Regions from separate parts of the Homo sapiens genome. Here regions 2 and 3 are each linked to region 1. The links are contacts of gene promoters, found by promoter capture Hi-C in human tissues and cell types (Jung and others, 2019). All regions are on one chromosome and are shown on one strand. Each heading gives the region's core, a stretch centred on a gene start or on the middle of the fragment in contact. The rest is flanking DNA. Distances are from core to core; before and after follow the strand shown. Region 1 holds the start of TBX15 (T-box transcription factor 15). Region 2 overlaps TBX15 (T-box transcription factor 15). Region 3 overlaps TBX15 (T-box transcription factor 15).

Evidence for each region. Contacts are between HindIII fragments. The study calls those that stand out against the background at their distance.
Region 2: a fragment that was not itself captured here is called in contact with the fragment with the promoter of TBX15 in region 1 in 1 of the 25 tissues and cell types used here (liver).
Region 3: a contact is called between a fragment that was not itself captured here and the fragment with the promoter of TBX15 in region 1, in 2 of the 25 tissues and cell types used here (psoas muscle and spleen).

Annotation. Positions count from the first base shown.
Region 1 is chr1:118,984,501-118,989,592 of GRCh38, forward strand. TBX15 (T-box transcription factor 15) reads right to left here and starts at 3,843. Exons shown (of 8, transcript NM_001330677.2): 1 at 3,091-3,843. The coding sequence starts at 3,295. RefSeq lists enhancers at 713-1,390, 2,710-3,243, 3,244-3,776. The HindIII fragment of the contact is 7,773 bases long and covers 1-5,092 here.
Region 2 is chr1:118,927,389-118,932,480 of GRCh38, forward strand. It overlaps TBX15 (T-box transcription factor 15), which reads right to left. Exons shown (of 8, transcript NM_001330677.2): 2 at 4,231-4,444. Among named protein-coding and RNA genes, the nearest start is that of TBX15, 58 kb to the right of the region's middle. RefSeq lists a silencer at 1,578-1,872. The HindIII fragment of the contact is 5,420 bases long and covers 1-5,092 here.
Region 3 is chr1:118,944,501-118,949,592 of GRCh38, forward strand. All of the region lies in intron 1 of TBX15 (T-box transcription factor 15), which reads right to left. Among named protein-coding and RNA genes, the nearest start is that of TBX15, 41 kb to the right of the region's middle. The HindIII fragment of the contact is 3,904 bases long and covers 435-4,338 here.

The DNA.
Region 1 (5,092 bases), core at 2,593-5,092:
CTTGCAAGGCCGCAGCAATATACTTGCAAGGCCGCAGCCGGAGCAGCTGTTCCAGCCGATCCTAGCTCGAAAGTTCCTCTGTTGCTCTGGGAGAGGGCGGGGGAGAGCAGGCTCGAGAGCCAGGCTCCTCCGAGGCTGGTCTTGAGGCACTTCTCTAGTAGCTTCTCCAAAAGACTGAGAGTGCCGGCGTAGGTATGACAGTGAGGGTACCTCACAGACCCTTCTCCAAAGTCTGGCGGGCCTTGGGGTTTTTCGGGGCCACCAGGCTCGGTGGAATTTTTGAAACGCTTTCGAAATACATAGTTTCCTCTGTGGAGTGAGTGCCTACAACGCGCAGGCCGGACTGATCCCCCGTTGCTGCAGGTTGGTGCCCCAAGCTGCGGGTGCTCGGGCGCCAACTAAAGCCAGCTCTGTCCAGACGCGGAAAGAAAAATGGGCTGTGAAAAAGCAAAAGGCCTCGTCTTTGAATGAAAGTTAAACATTAAAATCTGACCCTAGAGTTGTCTAAAGATCGCGGAATTTTGAAGCTCCGGCAGAGCGGACTAAAAAACGGTGCTATGAGAGATGGTGAGAATACTCTAGGCATGAACGTGTGCGTGTGTGTTTGTGTGTGTGTGTGTGTTTCATTCTTCCCGCAAAACAATTTTTTGTTTTTTTCCTATTCCCGGTTTGTTATCGGCCTAGGGCGGGAGAACCACGCAGCGGCTTCTGGGCCCTAAGGACAAAAGAGTTAAAACAATGAGGCTCACCCGGGAAGAGACGCTGCCCTGGGCACAATAGGGTCGCCTGCATTACTCCTCCATACACACATCTTTAAATGTGTCCCTGTGTGTGTTCGTTAGGGTGCTGTATTACAGAAAAAGAAAGGCCTAAAAACACCCCCAGCCCTGGTCGCGCCTTTCGCTACCGCCTGAGTCTGGAGCCGACAGCTCCACCTCTTCTGCTCCCTGGACCGCCGCGTCTCCACGCCACGGCGCCCTTTTTACTAAAAGATCTTTTCTCATCCTATCAGCAAATCGTTAAGAAAGGCTTAGCCATTGCGGGGGCTCCAACTTAAGGATTCCCCCGGCCCACTAAAAGGCTAGGCCCGGCCTGTAGCCCAGCTCCGCAGAAAGCCAGAGGGTGCTGGGCTTTCAGCTTCTTCCTCCTAGACACTTGCCCCACAAATATATTTCGTTTTCTCTAATCCAAATACCCATCTTTTTCTTTTTTAAAAAATGATAACGTAATGGGAAATGACCAACCGAACTCTGTTACATAAAGTTAGTTCTGTTAGATCTTCCACCCCACCCCCATCCCGCGGGAGCGAGTAAATAGAATTCATGAGCTTAGCTCCCCAGGTTCACGCTCTGGAATGGTTTCTTTTTGCCTCATTCCCTAAGTTTTCTCTCTTCTGCCTCCTGAATGGAGCTCAGGCTAAGGAGAACGGCAGAAAGAGCAAACTCTGATCTGAATCTCTAATTATGACCCCATGTATTACCCATTTGAACATAAGGCCCTAGACGGGCTCCGTGCGATCTGGGGCCTCCCAAGAGAAAACTTCCCCGGGACAGGACGTCTGCCACGCGCAGCTAAACAACTTCTGTTTTTTCCGCCGTGGGGAAAATAAAAGAACCTTACAAATTCTAAGGCGTCATAACCCCTGCAAGAACTTCTAACTGTATGAAGGCCCACGCGAGATTTTGACAATAGATAAATGAGCTGAGGAAATAGGGTCTGGCCAGCGAAGGGAAACACACAGTAGCCCTGGGTGCCTTTCTGGAATGCCCACGCAGGGGTCCGCGTGGACAAGCACTTGCATTCAAATACAGGAAAAGGCTTGGACGGTCGAAATAAATCTCCTTTTAATTTTCTTTTCATCGACTAATAAAAATAATTCCCCAGCACTAAACTCAAATACCGTAACGGGCCACAAAAACACGGAGAATTCATAAAACTCTATCTCTGCAGGTCACCCGCTAATCGCATTATTATTAGCCTCGGGAGCATGGAAATTGAACTGTCACTGCCTAAAGAGAAAATGTAAGCGACAGCTGTCCCTCCTCTGAGTTGGACAGCTTTGTGGCTGAGATCCCCAAGCTCCTGAGCCCCAGACCGTCTCTATCCCAGTGCAGGCCGCTGCCCCCTCCCCGGGCTTGTCAGCGTGTGAAGCGGGGTCTACTCCCCAGCTCTGGCTGTTCAGCAGGAGCACCTTCCAGCATGGTTTTAGAAGTCCGGGCTGGAAAGCTTCTGAAACCGCTAAACCAAGTTGCGAGCGTTGTATGTGCGCGCGCGCACACTCAAGATTCTTCCGACAACAGCTGTTCCCCCGGGCTGTTTTTGCACAGTTGAAATCTTGGCACTTAACACAAAACGTTAAAGTTGGCTTCTCCCCTCCTAGGGTTCTGTTAAAATACAGACATGACATCCCCCCTGCTTTTTACATGTTCCGTGCACATAATATACATGGGTTACTGTAGGATCTGAGACACAAATCAATCGTACCCACACCCTAAATACACAGAGATGTGGGCCCTGAAGAGTGACCCAAGGAGTAAGGGGTCTAACATCCATTCTTGTTTCCGTAAACGCCAAAGGAGTAGAAATATAATTATGTTCCACCATCGAAAAGTTGGTGGGAGAAAGGCAAGGACGAGGTTGAAGGCTAAATGAGACAACTGGTCATTCCCCGAAGACTGAGGTATTGGATTGGAGAACGCCGCGCCAGTCCTCCCGAGTTCTCAGAAGCGAGTCCTAGATCTCGGCTCCCGCCGTTGCCTTCGGCCCGCGCCCCTCCCAATCCCAGGGACCGGCAGCCCTTCATCCACGGACACCCAGAAAGCTGCGCTCTCCACCCAAAAGAAAAAGAAATGCAAACAAACAGGACTCCTTGCTTAGGCTGGCGACGAAAATGCAAGGCTCAGTCCAGCCCCAAAAATTGGTTCCGGTGAATTTAGGGAGGCTCAGGGCATTTGCGCGAAGAAACAGAAACCTATGTTGGGGCAAGGCAGGGCGTCAATGGCAGGGCCTAGCTCCTCACCCGCGACCGGCGACTGGCCCTTCGGCGTCCCCTCTCCGCCCGCCTCCCGCGGTCGGCTGCGACGCACTCACCCGGGTGAGGCTCCAGGCCGTGTGCCGCCGCGTCCTCCGTGTCTCCGAGTGGGCCCGCGGGGCTCAGCGCCTCCATAGACAGGTCCAGCCCCTTCTCCTCCCAGTCTCGCAGTTTCCGTTTTTTATTTGAGCCGATCAAGGCTTCAACGGAGAAGGCATGTGCTCGCGAGCTCAGGGCGACTGCAGATCTTCTCCTTTCACTCATTTTAGCCGCCCACACCCCTGCCTCCGCTTGCCCCCGCTACCGAGGGAGCAGCCGGCGCCCTCAAGCTCTGAGCGCCCACCGGGCCCGGCCCGGGAGAGGCGGAGGCGCGTCGGACGAGGCTGAGACTGCGGCTCGCGGGTCTCTCCACCCTCCCCCTGCGTCCTCCTCCGCCCTCCTCTGCCGGATCCGACCTGCGCCCCTACGCTGGCCCAGCTGCTAGGAACTAGCGCCCCGAGCGCCGCCCGCTCGCTGCATGAGCGCCCGAGTCCTGCTTCCCACCCACCGGGGCAGGCGCTCACAGACTGTGTCCACTGAACTTCATCTTGTTTTTGTTATTATTATTATTCTCTCTCCTCTCTCTCTCTCTCTCTCTCTCCCCTCCCTCTCTTTTTCTCTCCTCCCCCTCTCTCTCTCTTCCTCTCTGCCTTCCCGTCCTCCCTGTGATCCAAACTTCTGGGAAACTTTTTTTTCCGCTAAATTCCTCCCTTCCCGAGGAACAGGGGGCAGGCGGTGCGCTCCTGTCCGAGGGGTGAGGGAGAGGGAGGGGGAGGAAGAAAAAGACTGAGGGGGAAAAAAGCCAGCCCCCAACCAATAGCGAGGAGGGAACAAGAGAAACTCCGAGAGCGCGAACCAATGAGAGGAAGGGAGAGACTGAGGCCCGGGCCAAAGCGCAGCGCCAGTCGTCCCCTGGATGCTCCTGGGCCGACTTTAACCCCTGGCTTCCCGGTTTCCCCATGGGTTACTCCAAGAGGGAGGTAGGACAGTTGAAAGTTGAGGTCTGATCTGCGCCTTTACAAACTCCTGCAAATCCCAAATCCATACGTTTTTCTTCCAGATCTGCTGGTCTCATAGACGCTGCAAGTCCAGAGTCACTTTAGTTGCAGATCTGGAATTTTGGGGCTCTGACAAAATGTTAACCTGTCCAAAATGCCAGAAAACGATTCTGATAATTTCGCGTCAGCCCCTAGGTGCTTTAGAATATTCTGGTTCCTCCTGGATTTCGCCACACAGGTTTTAATGTTCCTACTGAACGTTTTCTAAGCAAATCTGGGTAAGGCAAAAGGAAACAAACAAACAAGCAAACAGAAAGCCCTGTTACTAACCAGGGTCTTGTAACTGAAAATTCAAAGACCGCTTCCTCCTTCCAGCTCTACCTGGTGGAGAAGGAGACACAGGCGCCTTGAGAGCAAGGGGCGGGCGGCGGAGCGCGGGGTTTAGGGCGAGCTCCTCAGGCGTATTCCAGCTGGGCCCCCTCACGCCGCAAATACTCTCTTTCCCTACGGCCCGAACGCTGGGCTGCGCTTCGCCTGTTCCGGGCTCTTGTTGCAGAGAACCTATGGAGAGGTGACAGGCAAGAACAGCTAGGAACTTTAACAGAAGAGAAGGAGCTTTTTCAAAATTCCCTGCAAATCCCGTTACCTCAAGACCATGGCTTTCCCGGCCAGCTGATCTCCCCCCTGGCCGCCCCCTGCCTTTTGCGATCTCTAAGGACTGCATTCAACATGGATTTCTAAGGAATTAAAAAATCCAACGCTCCTGGCCATTCTTAATTCCCACACCTCTTCCCAAGTTACGCCACCGGTCGAGGACGGCAGGAGACCCCCGAGTGCAGAGAAAGCTCAAACCGGCAGCGAAGTCGGTCCTAGCCAAGCTGAAAAAACGTCTCGGATTTCGCGGACAGCGGCCTAGACACAGCCCGATCTTCCAGTCCTAGTGCCCTGGTCGAGACGGTTCTATCCTTTTGCAAAGAAGCCGGAAAGAGCTGGGTCCCGGGGGCGGGGGACAGACTGAGAGGCC
Region 2 (5,092 bases), core at 1,373-3,872, 58 kb before region 1:
ATCATAAAATATTTTCAACTGAGTTTATTTGAAAATAACCACTCTAAAAATAGTCTCTCAAGTGTAAAAGAAAAAAAGGAAGGTGCTACCAGTCTCCAAACAAAGAGCCACCAAGATTTTTTAGTGCATAAAACTGTAGAAAATTTTCTGCAAGTTCTCAGGCTGTCAACGTGTGTGTCAGAGGAAGGACCCTGTGGAATTGGAAGCAAATACCAAATGAATTCTCGTGGCCTCTGGGCAATACCTTGTTTCTACCACAATGGCTTGTTAAACTTGCCAAAGCAAGTGAGGTCAGGATATAGCACTTTACGACTTCTCTCATAATTGAAGAGAGGAGGAGACAGAGCAGCCCAAAAGAGGTATTGAGTTTCAATAAGTCTAGAATAAAGTTCACCATTCTTCTTTAACCATAAGAAAGAAGAAAAACATCAAGCTCAAGCTCTTTTGTATCAAGCCGGACATAAAAAGTTCTCAGTTCAAAAATTTGGATTGCCCTGAATGTGCTCTAGGCTACTTGTATGCAAAATGCTGCATTAAGCTTAACCATCTGGGGCTAGTTAGTTGAGCTGGGCAGAGCACAGTGCTAATGAGGTCAAGGTCACAGGCTTGATCCACATATGGCCTAATTGGCTTTGCTCCATTTCATGGCCATAGACCATACCCTGACCTCAAACAGCCATCTTGCAAATATGTACTGGTTGGTCACAGGAGAGGCTCTCTGTGCTAGTTACACACTCACTACTCATCCAGGAGAAGCAACCCAAAAGGCTAATATCCCCTGGCAGTAGGTCAGTGACATCATAATCATATCTGAGAGAAAGCACAAGAAGGATCACAGTCCTTTAATAGAGATGGTGGCTAATTCTTATATGGTTACAAAATTAATGCATAACTATTTCATCTTTCTCACCTTATTACTCTTCAGAAGCTTCTAGGATATATTATCATTTAAAAATTTCTCCCCCTACCTCACAATTTTTATTTAAAGGCCTCATACTTTTGTCTTATGGTGGGCTAATGAAATTTGATGATGGGATACTCACATTGACTAAATCTAACATTCACTATAGGTTAGGCACTTTAATTTGCATTAATTAATTCCAAAAATTTGGGAAACTTGATCTACACATTTAAATACAGATAAGTAATTCCCTTCTTAATAACACTGATTTATAGCTTCCCTGTATATGTAAATGTTTGGAGGGCATCTTGCCAGAGATGGGGCAAAAGTCCTCTCATTTACTACCTGAGATAAGAAAATATGGTTTCCCCCAGTCACCTAGAGAGGCTGTATTACACGAAAGAGAGAGATTTCTTTTATTCATACCTTTACAAAAAAAGGTGTTAGATGTTTTTAATTCAATATCTGTTCTGTCTGGAACCATTATATGACCTTTAATGGAGAAGCTACCCATCCCTTTCCAGTACCTGACTTCTAAAATAAATGAACTATGTGACTTTGGATAAATCATTTAACCCCATCACCTATAAAACAAAGGAAATCGACTAGATAATCTCTACAGTGCCCCCTTGCTTTAAAATTCTGTGACTACCTTTGAATTCTCTTCTTAAAAACTTCGCAAGCCTTTTTTTTCTTTTTGTCACATTTTAGCATAGAATATCAAGTGAAGTCACAACAGTCTAAAGAAAAGTTAACCTTTCATGTTTTACAAAAAGAGATGTGTTTGGTTTTAATTTTATGGCTAAATTTAGGCCAGTTCTTTTGTCTTCTAAACCCATTAATCCTTGCAAGCACCTCTGTCCATGGTGCTGATTATGCAGGTTGGGTTGGTACACTCAAAGACTGAGGGCTCTATAGACTTCAGCAGCTCTGAATCAATAGGATCACAGTTTGGGGTGTGGAAGGAGGTAGATGGTGACTAAGATCATCTAAGTAAGAAAAAGGAGAGAAAGCCATATATAACTAACATAATTAAGAAGATGGAGATTGGAATTAAAATGGAAAAGAATACTGACAATACTGCATAGCAAGAAAAATGAGTGAGAAGCAAGAAATTAACCAGGAGAATGAGAAGGAATGAAGAAAATTCACAGAAGAGAAAGCCTTATTTGTATGATTCAGAGTTGTTTCAGAATTACCTGAGAAGAATTAGATGTAGTAACAACAGTTGAGACAACTGAATACAGAACCAATTAATGTAGTTTCTAAACTTAAACAAAGGATTTCAATTATTACTAAAGAACAAACTATGTGTCTGTCTTGGGGAATGTGTAGAGTATCCAGATATTAAGGTGAACTTGTGAAATCAGGGATATGGAAATGAAAATACTGCAGAAGAATTACAAAATGAGTCACAAGAAGGTTGTCAAGGAGATGCTCAAATGAACTCAATTCACTAAAGCACAGGGAATAACGAAGTGATATCAGGAACAAACATGACTGGAATACAGAGACCCAAGAGTAATAAAGTAAAAACCCAAAAAGAATACCGGAAAATCTTATAGACAAAAAAAAAATGTAATATTTCTTCTCTCTCCAAACCAACTCTTCTACCAAAAACTTTAAAAAAATTTCCTTGAGTTACTTTGTTTTCTTCCAAGCCTTTACACCACAAAATGTGGAACAGAAGTACACTGAGACCCAAGCAACGAAAAAGAGATGATATTGAACACAGTTATCCAGCCCATCTTCTCCCCCTAGGAAGCCTTTAATGGTTTTATTCACTACTGAGAGAAGGAAGAGAGCTCCAGAAAAGAAAGAAAATAAACAAAATTTCAGATTTATTTTAACTTCATGTTTTTGTCATATCTTATTGTTTTGGGAGGTTTCCTTATATACACGTAGATAAACTGGACCCAACCAAAATATTATTTTACTTTAAATGGCTATGTTCATGAAAACAGCTCACAATCAGTAAGATGCGATTTTTGTTCCCCATGACATGTGAGATTATGTACACTGGCTTTGAAAACACAAAAGTAGCATAACTGTTTTGCTTAATTTCAATGAACTATTCCTATATGCTGAAAAGCTTAGTCCAAATGTATTTATTTATTTATTTGTTTGTTTATTTATTTATTTTTGAGACAGAGTCTTGCTCTCTCACCCAGGGTGGAGTGCAACGGCACGATCTTGGCTCACTGCAACCTCCGCCTCCCAGCTTCAAGCGATTCTCCTGCCTCAGCCTCCCAAGTGGCAGGGATTACAGGCACCCATCACCACATCCAGGTAATTTTTGTAACTTTAAAAGAGACAGGGTTTTGCCATGTTGGCCAGGCTTGTCTCGAACTCCTGACCTTAGGTGATCCACCCACCTTGGCCTCCCAAAATGCTGGGATCACAGGCGTGAGCCACCGTGCCCGGCCCAAATTTAATTTTATCTAAATCGTTTCATTTTGAATCCAAGGGGCAAGAACTACAGCCATTTCTTCACAGTTCAGAGTTGAGACCACTGTTTTAGAGCCACACAGATTTATGCAGAATTCTGGAGCTGCCTCTTAGTACCCATGTGCCTTAGCCAAGCTAATTAATGTCTTTCATCCTCTGCATCCTAATCCATATATGGGATGATTATGTCCAACCTCATAGGGTTCCTGTAAGTTTCAAAGATGTATGTTGAGTGTCCAGCACAAAATAAATACTTAACTATGGAAAGTTGAAACATACCAATAAAGGAGTAGCTTAACTAAAAGTGTCTATATCAAGAGAAGCTGTGTTTTTAAAATTTTGTAATCCTAGAAAAACAGTTTTACAAGAAATTCCATAGGTCACCAATAAAGTTGTGTAATAATTTCAAGTCAATGATAAAACACAATGGACATCAACAGGCTCAGAATATGCATCAAGTCAATTCTTTTTTAAAAATTACTACAAAAGCATTGTTGCTTTAAATACTTTAGAAGATGCAAGTTGTTATTTGGGAAGCAAACTTCTTGAAAGTATTTAATGGTGAAGTAAACACTTGCTTTGGAAATATATATTTTGGCTGTTAAGATCCCATGGACTTCCAATATTAGCTGAAATACATTTGTAGGTGGAAAATGTTTGTGATTTACATGACTTACATTTGATTGGCCCTTGGAGGAAAATAATACAATCACAACAAACACAACAGAACAACTTTACCAAGATGTCCAAATGCAGAGAAGTGAGTGCAAGCTGCTTTGGTTTTGTTGATGCCATCACAAATAAATAAGAATGGAAGAATGTAATGGCTCCTACTTCTGCAAATTCTTTGAATCTGGCCACTCAAAGGAATTTGTCCTTACCTGCCTGCTTTGGTGATGATCATTTCAGTTCCAATATCATGGAACCGCTTCCAGAGGTCAGCACATTGCAGCTCCACCTGAATCTCCTCCATGGAAGACATGGCAGCAGGCACAGGGCCTGCAGCACCAGAGGCCAGGTCAGTGTGAGTACTGAAGGAGCAGGAAGTCCGCTCAGTGAGGACCTCAGAATCTGAACCAGTGCTCTGCTCAGAATCTGCAAAATAAACAATCAAGCCTTAGGTGAGAAACTGCTGAGCTCCCCTCACCCATGGCCCTAAAAGATGGGGGTGGGAAATGCAATGAAGTGGGGAGAGGGGTAAACAAAAGGAGACTTAAAGCTGGGAAGCTCCAGAGCACAGCACTCAGGGTATTTTATTATTTTTTATGGTTTGTTTTTGTGATTTATGACCTTCTTTCAGGTTTCGTGTTTCCAACATGACATCTGGCATTTTAGTAAGTTTTAGCAACAGCTGAAGAAAATTGGTCCACAACAGGCAATATAAATAGTACTAATGTCACCATGTTGAAGAGAATGAGGCCAAACTGGGGCAACAAAATAAATGCCATATTAAACTAAAATAATTATAAATTACAGGTCCAAACCTAGATTAGACTATTACATTTGTGCAAGTAAAGATTCAGTGCAAACATTATGTTCTTCAATTCCATACCACTCAGCATCACTGCCTGTCAGTTATTTTTAAACACAGAAATTTTTCCTCTACTTACATAAGCCATGGCCATCAAAAGTAATGAAAAGCTGCTTGGGATCTTTAGAAGTACTTTGTCATATATTTGAGTAAATGGTTTTTCCTAAGAGTCTAATCAGGCCATTTTGGATGGGAAAAAAACCTCTGTTGTG
Region 3 (5,092 bases), core at 1,137-3,636, 41 kb before region 1:
ACCCTTGAAGAGACAGTGTCCTTCAAGTGTGTCAGCAATTCAGAAACTGACAGCTTCCAAAATAGCTGGTGTGTTGTTGAGTGTCTGTTGCCTTCTGAAAGAGTGGCAGTGTCGCCGAGACAGCAGGATTTCCTTGCCAAAGTTGCTCCTACCCTCCTCCCCACAAGACTCTGCCCTGCCTCTCCCTGTCCCTGCCTAGGAAGACTTTGAGCCCAGGGGCCATGGCATTTAAGCACTGTCAGAGTTCCCACTTCAATTCCCACAGTGGTGCCAGTTCAGCATCTGTCATGATGACCCAGCCTGAACTGTATTTAGAAGCTTGGACATGGCACCATGTTCCAGCACATCTCACAGTGACAGGAGATTTCCTGAGCACCTGGGCTTGCGATTCGAGCACTCCTCTTCCCAGGGAATGGGGGTCAAAATGACTTTCCTCTGATGACCTGTTTCCTTCTTAGGATGGTGTCCTTCTGTTGGAGGCCTCTTCTCAGAGTCAATCTCCATCAATGCTATTACACAATGCTGTTTAAAAATCCATACTTTTTAGAAAGCTTGCAATACGTAGCAGGGGAAAGAGAGGAGAATAGGAAAGTCAATCAGAAAATGGGTTTAGTACTCTGTTCATGGACTATTCTTACAAAGATAAATTTCCCTGAAAACATAGCCTGGGAGTGTTCAGAACCTACCAGACATTGCCAGTGAATTGAGAGAGCCTGTCTATTTCACAACTAAGTGGGACAGTGTATAAGAATTCATTTCATCTTTTTGGCAGCATTTATTCCAGTCTTTAAAGCAGCATACTACAGTCCCCCCAAAATTGTAAGTTAACTCTGATTAGTGGTTAAAAATTAAGTCCATTTATTTACATATTCACATTAATCTCCACCTAGACAGGCAGACTGATAATTGTATAACACTAATCAGGTGGGCTGTAAGTTTTGAGGGTTACTGCACACAGAGCAGGTCTAGGTCCTCAATCTGATAGGTCACAGGAGAAAGAAAGGCTTTTTCTCAATTGACCCCAAACTCTCTACCCCACTGTCCCTAACCAGAGCTCCATGGAGACACCCTGTCATTTAAAAGGCATCAACGTTTGGCCTCTCCCATTCCTGGGCAAGAACCCAACACTCAGAGAATGTGGTTTTAGGATCATGGCATCTAATCCATTCAAGGATTATTTTCCCCCCCTACTGTTCAGATGGGTGTGTTAATCATCACCTCTCTTTGTTCTGTAATAAATTCAACCCTGGCTAATTCCAAGCCTCTATGCATCACTGGAGTTTAAAGATGGCATTTTGACAGGTCAGATATTCAGAGTCAATGGTCCACCAACCAGTCAAAAATCCTTAAGTACTTTTAGGAACATGTGGAAGTAATTTTTTCCAAGAATTTACAAGTCTGGAGGATGGGATCTTATTGATGGTGTATGAGCTGTTGTATATATTAAAGTATTACTTTATATACATATTCTACATATAATCAACATTGATGTATGAGTGAAGGCAGATTTCCCTTTTTATACCAAGTACTACACAAGTATTATCAAATGCAAATTACAATAAAGTATACAATATATAGCATCTTTAAAAAAATAAGACTACAGTAAAACTATAAGTGAATGTGCAATGAGTACAAGTTTAAAATACAAATGCTATAGGCTAGGAAATTTCATAGATATCAGAATATTTTATATGACACTTGCTATACTTGTACATTTTAACTACAGTCATAGTTTGAGATGAATATTTTTATAAAGAAAAAATTTATTATATAAAATATTGACTTCTAATTATTTAAATGAAGAGGTTATTAACCTAAAGTCAATGGACAAGCTTTGGAGGTTTACAAGTCACCTAAAATGATAAGTTAAATTTGCAAAAGCTTGTGTGCTTTTCTGGGGCAAGGATGCATGGGATTTATGAGATTCTCAAAGGAATCTATGACTTTAAAAGGCCTTAAGGACTACACTGGTTTGATAGGTTTTCTTCAAGTGTAATAAACATCCATCTTTCCAAGCTCTATTCTGCTGTAACAAAATGCTTTTTCCCTCAGCCAGATATTTACAATGAAAAAGATTCAAAAGAATATGACACAGATTACTAATGGTGCATCTTAATAAAAATATATTTTATCTTTATTATGAAGAGGAAGGGATTGTGTTTCTCTATGTAGTAATGAGTATTAAAATGGCCACCTGAGACCATCTTGCTTTCTCTGTATGATTCCCTATTTTCCATTGATCTTTATTTTAACCACACATACACATATATATAAGTTGGATAAATTATAATCCATATTCACCTACTTACTTGGGGAAAGTAGATGAATTATAAATTATTTTTGAGTGAATGAAAACGTGGCTTTTCCTTTGGTCTTGCTGCTTTTACTCTGGTTCTCTTTTCCCCTATCTCCCAGGAAAACATTAGTGGCACAGGAACCCCAAGCTTACCAGGTTCTTTCTCCTTATGTGTGCCAAAAGTCTGCACAGCAAGTCTGCTGTTGCGGGACTTGCAGTCCAATCCCCTCACTGGGGATGTGCTCTTAGGCAGTGGTCCCTGTATCTCAGAAGAAATCCCTCCACCTCATGTCCTCTAAGGCAATGTCTGCATCTGGCACTGGGGTTGAGAGGCAGCTCCACAGGGAAAGCTGGACACAGTGAGTAAGTGAGGCTGCCCCAGGTAGGCCTGCCAAGGCTTTCCTAAAGGCCATGGCAATGGAGCCTGCCCATGAGAAGAACATTTTGGTGAGCTCAGTTTGTCTGCTACCAAGAACCTCCTGGTCCTCCCAGCTAAACATCTATTTTTACCACACTGTGACACTGAAGACTCTGCTGTCATTAAAGTGAATAATAAATACAGTCAACTGCATTATTTGTCATTTTATGGTGAAAGGAACTCTGGATTCAGAATCAGAAGGTAGGAGTGTTAGTCCTGGTTTGGAATCAGAAAGCAAGAGTGTGAGTCCTGATTCTGACTCTACCTAGAGATATGATCTTGAGGAGCCATTTAACCCTGTGGTGCCTCAGTTGACACATCTGTGAGAAGTGGAGAAGGAATCCTACTGCTTACGCAACTCAATGAGGCACCAGCAAAATAAAACAATGCAGAGGAAAGCACTTTGTAAATTATAAAGTGCCATATAAAAATGTAACTTATCAGCATTACATTTAATCATTCACCCTGCAGAGATTTCTCAATGTGCTCTAAATACCATGCTTAATCCATACTTGCAGTGCCCATTAGAGATGAGGAAACTGAGACTCGGTGAAGCAAAGTGGTGAAGTGAGAAGACCTGCTTGCTGAGAGCCTGGGTTCTCTCCTCAAACTGGTCCATGCCTCCCCCAGCAGCAGTACTTCATTTACTCTTGCTGAGCAACTATTGCCTCATTTTTAAAATGGAGACGTTAACTGCTTGCTCCTATGAGACAAAGATCTAGACAAAATGACCTACCCAGCATCTTGTTCCATGATCTGTGATTCTGCAAAATGCGAGCAAGGTCATGAGTTATCTTGTGGTGGTAGGGAACTAGCAGCCAAGTGTGCTGACCAATGGACCCCATTTGTTCTTTTGGTTTCTGAAGCATAGCATCTGACCATCTCCCCAGTGGTGACTCAGTGAAGAGTCACAGTACAGTCAGGGTCTCTATTATGCTAAGTGCCTTTTCCTATATTCTGATTCTCTGTTAAGAGACATACGTAGCAACTTTTCACTGATCAAGCAAAATAACCCATTTTATAATGGGGGCAGACAGATAACATCTTTAAAAGGTCAGTTTACAGTCCACACCGAGAGATTGGCTCTATCACATATCCTCTTACACAGAGGCCACTAGGCTGCAGGATAATTAGTATGGCCAAATTGCTCTAATTATTTTCAGCAAAAGAAGGCTTTGCTCAATCCAATGGCAAAATGTTCCAGGGACTGGTCCTGTGGGATTCTGAGACCACCAGCAGAGCTGGCCTTCTGCTCCCTCCTAAAACAAAAGCTAGTCCCAAAGAAACCTCAGGTTTTACATAAAGTTGCTCAACTTCTCTAGGGTCCAACCTGCCTGGCTCTTTTCCCCTCTGGGCCTCAGTGCAATTCTTCTCTCAAAGCATACCTCACTTTGCCTTTACCCCACAGAGTCACTGTTGTGGCAGGACTCAATGTTTGCAACTGTTTTTCAACTTCACAAAGAAACACCTAGTAAAAGATCTTGCTATTGATTCTCATTTCTCAAAATGATCTTGTGAAACATGCTGCTTGTTGCCTCAGAGAAAGTGACTTTTCTTCCCTCCAGAAAGACCCTACCATGGTTTGAGTTGTGATTACACATCTGAATTCAGTTTGCACAAGATAAATATTACTAAATTAGAGATAAATATTCTGCTAACTTGGTCCTTAGAAGAAAAAACGCAACATGTTTCTTATCATGCTCCTAAACTGCCTGTGAAAGACCTCTTTCTTGCCATTATTTACAATTTAATTATGAGTCAGTGTGGACCAGGATAAAATATATCCTCTTAGGAAGGGAGAGCAAATGAGTTTCAACATGCATGTCAGCTCTAGCCATTTGAATGTGGCATTTGAGAGCTTGAAATTCAGAAGCATGAGGCCCAATCCAAGCTCATAGGGAAGAGTACCAGATTGATTAGTGATGTGTTTCATGGACACAGGAGTCAGGAATAGCAGCATATGCATTACATATTTATTATCATATTATTTCTAAGGCTTCTACTGGAATGCTGCTGTGCATGAATTGTCACAATATCCCTCTTACATGCTTTCAGGAAATAAAAGCTATTGTGTCATTGTTCATATTTTATGTTATTCTTTCCAAGTGGCCCAGATTTTCCAGAGGCATCTGAGAGGCCACTAATCTCTCCCCTCTAGAAATAAGGTCATCATGTTAGCAAACTTCCTCTGCTCTGACACAGTTGTGGTTTTAATGGAGAACTAATGTCTTCATCAGTATCTGTGCTATTTCACACTTCATTTCCTCCCCAACTCTTGGATGAAAACCATCCAGTCCTGGTGATTTACTTTGTGGGAGTTTCTTTCAAGTTTGTTTCCTTCTCCAAGGATGTCACACAAGCATTTTCAGGGCTCCAGC